Linked DNA regions of Homo sapiens: region 1 is linked to region 2. Evidence: promoter capture Hi-C in human tissues and cell types (Jung and others, 2019). All regions are on one chromosome and are shown on one strand. Each heading gives the region's core, a stretch centred on a gene start or on the middle of the fragment in contact. The rest is flanking DNA. Distances are from core to core; before and after follow the strand shown. Region 1 overlaps CAND1.11 (a long non-coding RNA gene). Region 2 holds the start of EIF4G2 (eukaryotic translation initiation factor 4 gamma 2).

What was found. The method cuts DNA at HindIII sites, captures the fragments that hold promoters and counts their contacts. A contact is called where the count stands out against the background at its distance.
Region 1: a contact is called between a fragment that was not itself captured here and the fragment with the promoter of EIF4G2 in region 2, in 1 of the 25 tissues and cell types used here (bladder).

Annotation. Positions count from the first base shown.
Region 1 is chr11:10,324,776-10,328,304 of GRCh38, reverse strand. The region is part of intron 1 of CAND1.11 (a long non-coding RNA gene); the gene reads right to left. Among named protein-coding and RNA genes, the nearest start is that of CAND1.11, 18 kb to the right of the region's middle. The HindIII fragment of the contact is 5,263 bases long and covers 1-3,529 here.
Region 2 is chr11:10,807,557-10,811,262 of GRCh38, reverse strand. EIF4G2 (eukaryotic translation initiation factor 4 gamma 2) reads left to right here and starts at 2,337. Exons shown (of 22, transcript NM_001418.4): 1 at 2,337-2,558. It overlaps LOC101928053 (a long non-coding RNA gene), which reads right to left and starts at 1,966. Exons shown (of 3, transcript NR_120540.1): 1 at 1,897-1,966; 2 at 1,342-1,406. RefSeq lists enhancers at 1,253-1,859, 1,935-1,984, 2,495-2,754, 3,485-3,564 and a silencer at 2,165-2,214. The HindIII fragment of the contact is 7,870 bases long and covers 1-3,706 here.

The sequences.
Region 1 (3,529 bases), core at 149-2,648, 480 kb after region 2:
AAATGTAAGGAAGAAAGGAGGAAAAAGAAGAAAGACAGGAGAGATTAATCTCGATCCCAAAGATAGGTAGGACCTTTTGTTATTACACCAGCAAGTCATGGTTCTCTCCTTTCTTCCCTCTTTGTCTCCCAACCCTCTTCAACATGTATACTTGCCAAGGGCTAGGGAAACCCCAGCTTACAAGATCTACTCCCTCTAAAGGGACTGATCCTAAAATTAAAGCCAGTCCAGAGGGGCCACCTTTCTAGCCCAGGCAAGATATTCAAGCCTCAAACCAGGTTAAGGTCGTGTTGGAGTCCACACATGCCCTCTTCTTCCCTATCCAACAAAGGCCTGAGAAACTATGGTCTTTTCCATTAATGCCCTTGGACTGGAAGGGCAGGGGTCATATATAAATTCTGTGCTAAATACTATGAATTTTTTTTCTTTTTTCAGCATGAGACAGATACTGTGAATGCTATATCCCATTTAATGCCCATAGTAAATCCTGTGCTATAATGTATTAATTAAGATGGCTTCCATTAAAAGGAGCAGAAAGCTCAACTCACTATGGGTTACTAAGTGAAGGAGATGATTGGTTTATACAATAGAAGTATGACAGGATTGAGGATGGGTCCATTTAGGAGTTCAACAACTTTATCAGGGAGTTCTATTTTCCATCACTCCACTCTGCCATTCACAATGAGAGCTTCCATCTAGGGCTTGCCCCTGTTTTAGTCTCAGAGTGGCTTTCTATTGCTGCTGAGACTGCATATGTCTCCCACTTTTATCTAGCAGGAGAAAGGGAACTTGTTTTTCTGGAAATAAGCCAGTAAACTTATGCAAACTCATTGGCCTGAATTGCTAGTGAGACCACATATGTGTCCCATTCTTATCTAGCAGGAAAAAGGAAATTTGTTTTTCTGGAAATAAGCCAATAAACTTATGCAAGCTCACTGGCCTGAATTAGGCCAGCACCCATCACTGGGTCCTGTAATAGTGGCCTTAAAATGGAATTGCACTAGGCCTGAGTCTTCAGGAGTGGAGTGGTCTATTGGGGGAGATGTGGATACCCTAACAAAAGTCATGGTAGTTACCAAGAGAAGAACAAGGGCTGGGGAGGCAACTCCAAGGCTCTCTTAGCTACATATTATCCTATTTTTCAGAGGAGAAACTGAAGCTTGGAGATGCTGCTGTGTGTAATGATAGAGCCAGGACTCTCACCCTTCCCTACACCAGGTTATCTTGAAGAAACAAACCAAAGAAAAGCCGGAATGGTCATCCCTTCACTTTCAGCCTAAAACATGTAGATAGGAAAGAGAAGCAGGGATTTCATGAGACTGGGAAAATCTCAGCCACTGTGCACCCAGGAGCTACTGAATCTACCTACTCCACAAAGCTGAGGCAGCTTTGAACCTTCACATCACCTGGAACCATGCCTAGCTCAGCAACTATTTGTAAACTGAAGAGCAGAGACTACAAAGGTATTACCCATAATGATGAGTTCTAGAGCACTGTTTCCCCAGCCCATTCTGGGTTAAATCAGAGGTGTGGGCTAGCCTGGGAACCTTGCCACACTGCATAACATTGCTCCTCCTGGGGAATGTCTTCCGAGTTCTAAAGGACAGATTTGCAAATAGACTTCTGGAGTACAGCCCCATCCACTGCTGGGAACTGCCTTTGTTTGACTTGTTTATTCAGGAGAGCTTCTCTGGACTTTCACCCAGCCGCTGCCTGGCAGGAGGTGACCTGGCTTTAGCCAACAGTGGGTGGGGACAGCAGGAGAGCAGCTTCTGCTCAGTGCTAACTGGACACAAAGCTATACCATAGGAAGGGGGAAGGGCAGAGTATTCAAAGGCCATAAGACAGCTAGTCTTTGACAAGGGACCTCATTTAAGGAGCATGAGTCTCCCTGTCTCACTTCTACCTGGTGGAAGAGTGAGACAAAATTAACTTACATGACTTGAAAGGCTTTTGCAATTTTTGAGGGCCACTGAGTATAAATTTTCCAATAAGCAGCTGTTGGCTTTTGTTCCTGCTGAGGTCTCTCACAAGGCAGCATCAGGTTTGAGTGTCATGGCCTGCCATGGCCCCACTGGCCTTGAGGGTTTCTGTGGCCTATTTTAAGCAATTTTACTGTTCATGGTCCTGGCAAACATATCCATTTTTCTGACAATATTTATAGTCTGATGTAAGTGTGAACTAGATAATGACCTTTTCAAGTCATGGCACAATGTTCTGTTTAAAGTTTTCATTTTTTTGCTCAGAACATCTGCAAGATCCTTTGACCCTTCTGCATGGTCTCTTGGAGATTTTCCTAACTTTCTGACCACTTGTGGGGATAGAGGGGTGAATGATGGGCAGACCCTTCACGTGTCTTGGGTCATGTGAGCATCTGAGCCTACAGAGAACACTCCTTTTGCTTCTGAAGCTCTTGCAGCCCGTTCTGAGAAATGTAATGCTGACCAGTTCATCTCAGGCATTTCTTTCTCTCCGGACATTATAGGATCACCCTCAAAACACGTGTGAGGGCACATACATCATCAGCTTCCCATAGTGAGTAGTTCCTAGGACTTGGATAACATTTCAAGCTTGACATGGCTAAAACAATACCATATCTGCAGTTAACTTTAGGTGACTCACCAGAAGAGCTATTTTAAACAAATTTGTAGCGACTAAGATTACATTTGTTCTATGAAAAACAGACTGAAAGGACAAAAGGCTAATGCAATATTTTTGAAACGCTCTTTTTAAGCTCAATGAAGTCCTGCTGTATTTTCTTGACAGCATCCTAGTTACCAGGCATAACAGGAGGGGCAATAACTGGTATCTAAACCACTCAAGAAACAAGCATGTCTTGACACCATCCAGCAGGAGTATATGTTCATCAGAAGACAGGTTTGTAGAAATAGTGATGGCCATGTTCATCTAGTCACCAGGGATTCTAATGTATTCCCTTTCAAAATAATATTGGTCAGGCTAGAGCTCTGGTAGCCTTGTGAAGGGTATGGTTTACCAGTCACCTGGCCTGCCTTAAGGTCATCTTCAGTTCTCCTGGCAATTACTATACTCTCTTCTCTATCCCAGAGTGCAGACACATTTCTGTATTTAGTTCAAAGAAAATCAACAGCACAAATTCATAGGGATTCCTGACAAAGCCAGAAGGTCAGAGCTAGAAGCAGATTGGGGCTTCTAGCTCTGACCTTTCAGCTGAGACAAGATTTCTAAGGGGAGAAGAATGAACAGATGTGAGGAATGGGGTGCTCTCATGCTACTCAAATGAAGCACAAAGGTAAACACCAACCTCATTATTCTCCTGAGAAGTTGCTTATTTTCCTGGGGTGGGGAACCTGGGGGCAGGCAGAACCTTCAAGGCCTGAGAACTATCAAGAGACTCTTTAGGAGGCGAGGAGAAGCTGAAACCACTATCCCAACCCAGTTCTCCTGAGTTTTCCTTCCTGCTTCGGGTTTCCCACTTCATTTCCCATTGCCGTGGCATCATGTCAGCCCCTACCTGTGAGGAGATACTGACATTTCTTTAGTGTTATAC
Region 2 (3,706 bases), core at 1,088-3,587:
GGATCACTTGAGGTCAGGAGTTTGAGACCAGTCTGGGCAACATGGTGAAACCCCATCTCAAGTAGAAATACAAAAATTAGCTGGGCGTGGTGGCACATGCTTGTAATCCCAGCTACTCAGGAGGCTGAGGCACGAGAACTGCTTGAACCCAGGAGGTGGAGGCTGCAGTGTGCAGAGATCACACCACTACACTCCAGCCTGAGTGACAAAGTGAGACTCTGTCTCAAAAAAAAATTTTTTTTTCTAAAGGTTTTACTTAATGTTTTTATTTAATCTTTGCTAATTGTGAACCCTTCTGCAATGGGCTTTGCAGGTACGATTTCAACTTCAAATCTTTCTATTTAAGTGAGAGAAAGGTAATTGAAAGATTGTTTTATCAATATTTTTACTTTTTCTACCTTAGGTTATTCCCTTCCAGGTCAATTTCTCACATAAACTCATATCTGCAAAGCCCATACCAAAAGGGTTCCCAATTAGCAAAGATTAAATAAAATATTAAGTAAAACCTTTTTTAAATTTTTAATTACTGAATTTTAAGTGTCTTAATTATAAGAACATCCGACTTTTACGGCTAGGTGAATATTCTCTTTGAAGTCTAGACAATAGTTTTTGAATACTACTCTTCTTAGTAAACTAATGTATTCGTTCATTATCAGATAAATGGAATGTAAACCAGTTATGTAAAAATATCACATATACTAATGCATTTTTCCAAACCTTAAAGCCCTACAGAAATTATAAAGAAACATTATTCTCGTGTTATCATGAAGCTAGAAGGGTCCAAAGAAATACAAAGTGAAACCTCTTGTATTTAAAACAAAACTTGCACCACCACCACCACCCCAAAATAGTTTTTTTTTTTTTTTAGAATATCTCTTCCAAGTTTTAAAGTTCAAGTAAAATTGATGTAATAGCAATAAGTGTAGTAACAGTAAAGTAGGGAATGGTGACTATTCTATAGCAAAGATCTACAGATGTTGGAATTGTGTTAAAAACCTTCAGAGCCACACCACAGCCTTCTATTACATTTAAATGTCGTAGGAAAAACTGCAATTTTCCGGAAAATTGTATTAAGGACCAGGTGCTCTAATACCAAGAGCTGTTTTGACACATCAAAGGTTAAGTTTGGGTCTTTGAAAATCCTGCCTCTTACTGAACACTTTAAAAGTCATTCATGTTAAAACACACACATTCTTGCCTTTGACTATACACTGTAAAAGTACTACATGTTAAAATGGAGATGGGGACATTTTTGTTGTTTAAGTTTATGGAAGTATGACTCCATTTTAGTATAGCTACAATGTCGCAAACGATGGAATAAGGTACTCATCAATACATTACCTGGTAAGTATAAATAGTTCAACTTGCCGGCTTTGAAAAGCTTAATCCTATTTCTTATGGTGAACCTTAAATAAAATGAAAATACACAACTGACAATGTTTAACGTGCACTTAAACAAACAAAAAACAAAAAAAAACAGGAGCTAGCAATTCGAAATCCTCCAAACACCCGCGGAAGTCTGACACACAGGGTGTTTTCCTCGGTGACCGCCAGCCGGACATTCCTATGGGAAAAGCAGCTTCTTCTGTGCGGTTCGAAGAAAATCAACCCCTTCCTTTCATCACTTTCTCATTCACTCTGCAGGGGGTGGGCCAATAAGGAGCTGAATGAAGCTCCCCTTTGGCATCCGGGCGCACGTCTCGCCTCCTCCCCACTACTTTCTGGGTTCCCTAAGGCTGCCGAAGCCGAGGACCTGGAGCCGGGTAGTGTCCCGGCGCTGCGCCCGGGGGCTCCAGGCCTCAACCCGAAGGGCTCAGCCCCGGGAGAGGCCAGGCACGCGAGGGCAGCCACAGCTCCAAGGGGCGCCAAGAAAAGCAATGCTCACTCGCCACGCACAGGGTTCGGGGGAGGTAAGGGTGCGTTTTCTTCCCATATTCCCGGTGAGAAAACGAGGTCGAGGGAAAAGGGGATGATACAACTGGAGCATGGCATATGGACTCAGTGAACAAAGGGACTGGAGCAAGAAGCAGCAGCCACGCCAACGCAGACTCAAAAGGGCTCTCCGGCTTTACGCACGCAACCCTCATCTCGACAGCGCTCGGCGCCCCTTACGCCACTGGCTCAGCCTCAGAGACTTCGCGAATATGGCTTTGCGCACTGCGGCGGGGCTGCGCCGCAACCGAGCTCAGCCCTGTGGCTCCTCCTCGCTGCCCTGCGCGGATTGGTGGCAGACGGCAACCGGGCCGCTGATTGGGCGGCGAAGGAGCCATTCGGGGAGACTCTGGTGGGTTCGGCTGCCCCAAGAGTGATAAGTTCGGCTTCAGACACGCCTTAGCGCCAGCAGTGAGTCGGAGCTCTATGGAGGTGGCAGCGGGTACCGAGTGGCGGCTGCAGCAGCGACTCCTCTGAGCTGAGTTTGAGGCCGTCCCCGACTCCTTCCTCCCCCTTCCCTCCCCCTTTTTTTTGTTTTCCGTTCCCCTTTCCCCTCCCTTCCCTATCCCCGACGACCGGATCCTGAGGAGGCAGCTGCGGTGGCAGCTGCTGAGTTCTCGGTGAAGGTGAGTTGAGCCGCTGCCGCCGCCGAGTGGAGCGCTCTAAAATGGCCGCCGTCCCTGGTCGCTTCTTCTCGAGTGGTACAAAATGGCGGCCGCAGGCGGAGCCGGGTGGGGCGACCCTTTTTTAGCATTTCCTCTGCGCTTCAGATACCTGGAAAGTCTTGGCTTTTGTTCTCTCTTCCTGTTGCTGACGGAGTAGAAGGAAAACGTCAGTGTTGGCCAGGCCGCCGTGCGGTCATGGCCGGATGGCCGACGCCTGCAGGGACGAGGCCGTGGCGGACCGAGGCACGGCTGTGCTCGGACGGCGAGGGAGCGTGGCTCGGACCGCTAGCGCCGTGGCGGGAGGCACGCGGGCCGGCAGGGAAGGCCAGGCCGTTGGCGCGGGACCAGGGAACCGCAGGCGTCCCGGAGCCTGGCCTCCCGGCGGGGAGGTGTGTAGGACCTGGAGTCGGCAGGGGCTGCCCTTCGTCGGGGAGGAAAGAGAGAGTGATGATTTCTGCCCCTTTTGTCAGCAGAGGAGGCCGTGGCGAGGCGGTTGTCAGTCCCGGGGGGATTTATGGTGCAGGAGGGGGCCCGCTTGGAGGCGGCGGGTGGGCAGGAGGCCGCCTTCCTGCTTGGAGAACAAAGAGCTGGGCGCCGGGCTGGCGGGGGTGGCCTCAGCTGCTCCTCCCCGTCGAGCGACCCGGGCCTCGCGGGGAGGTTGTCGGAAGCACTTCCCTAACTTGCGCCTGGGTGGGAGGAATGCTCCGCTCTTTTGTTCCCAGGAAGGGAAAAACGGGGCGGAGGTTCCTGCTGCCATGTTGTGGCCCTGGTCTTCCGCCTGCAAGTGCTAGTCCTGTACACCCGGCCCCCTCTCGCGCGTCTTTCCACGAGCTCTCCACGGGGAGGAGGCGAAAGGGTGGACAGGGGAAAACTGCTGAAGAGCTTTCGGAGAGACCTCATCTAGTCGCTGGCCTCGTCAAGGCAGTAAAAATTCCTAGGGCAGACATTTTCCACGTGATGTTGCTCGTGTCTGTAGTTAGACTTTTCTATTGATCTCAGTGCTCAGTTTTAAAGATAGTAGAATGTGGCTTTTTCAAAAGATTCGTTCTGAGCCGTTTAAAATGCTCTTGTGTTCTACGAAGTCTCTTTGCATCCTTGAACACCGGGGA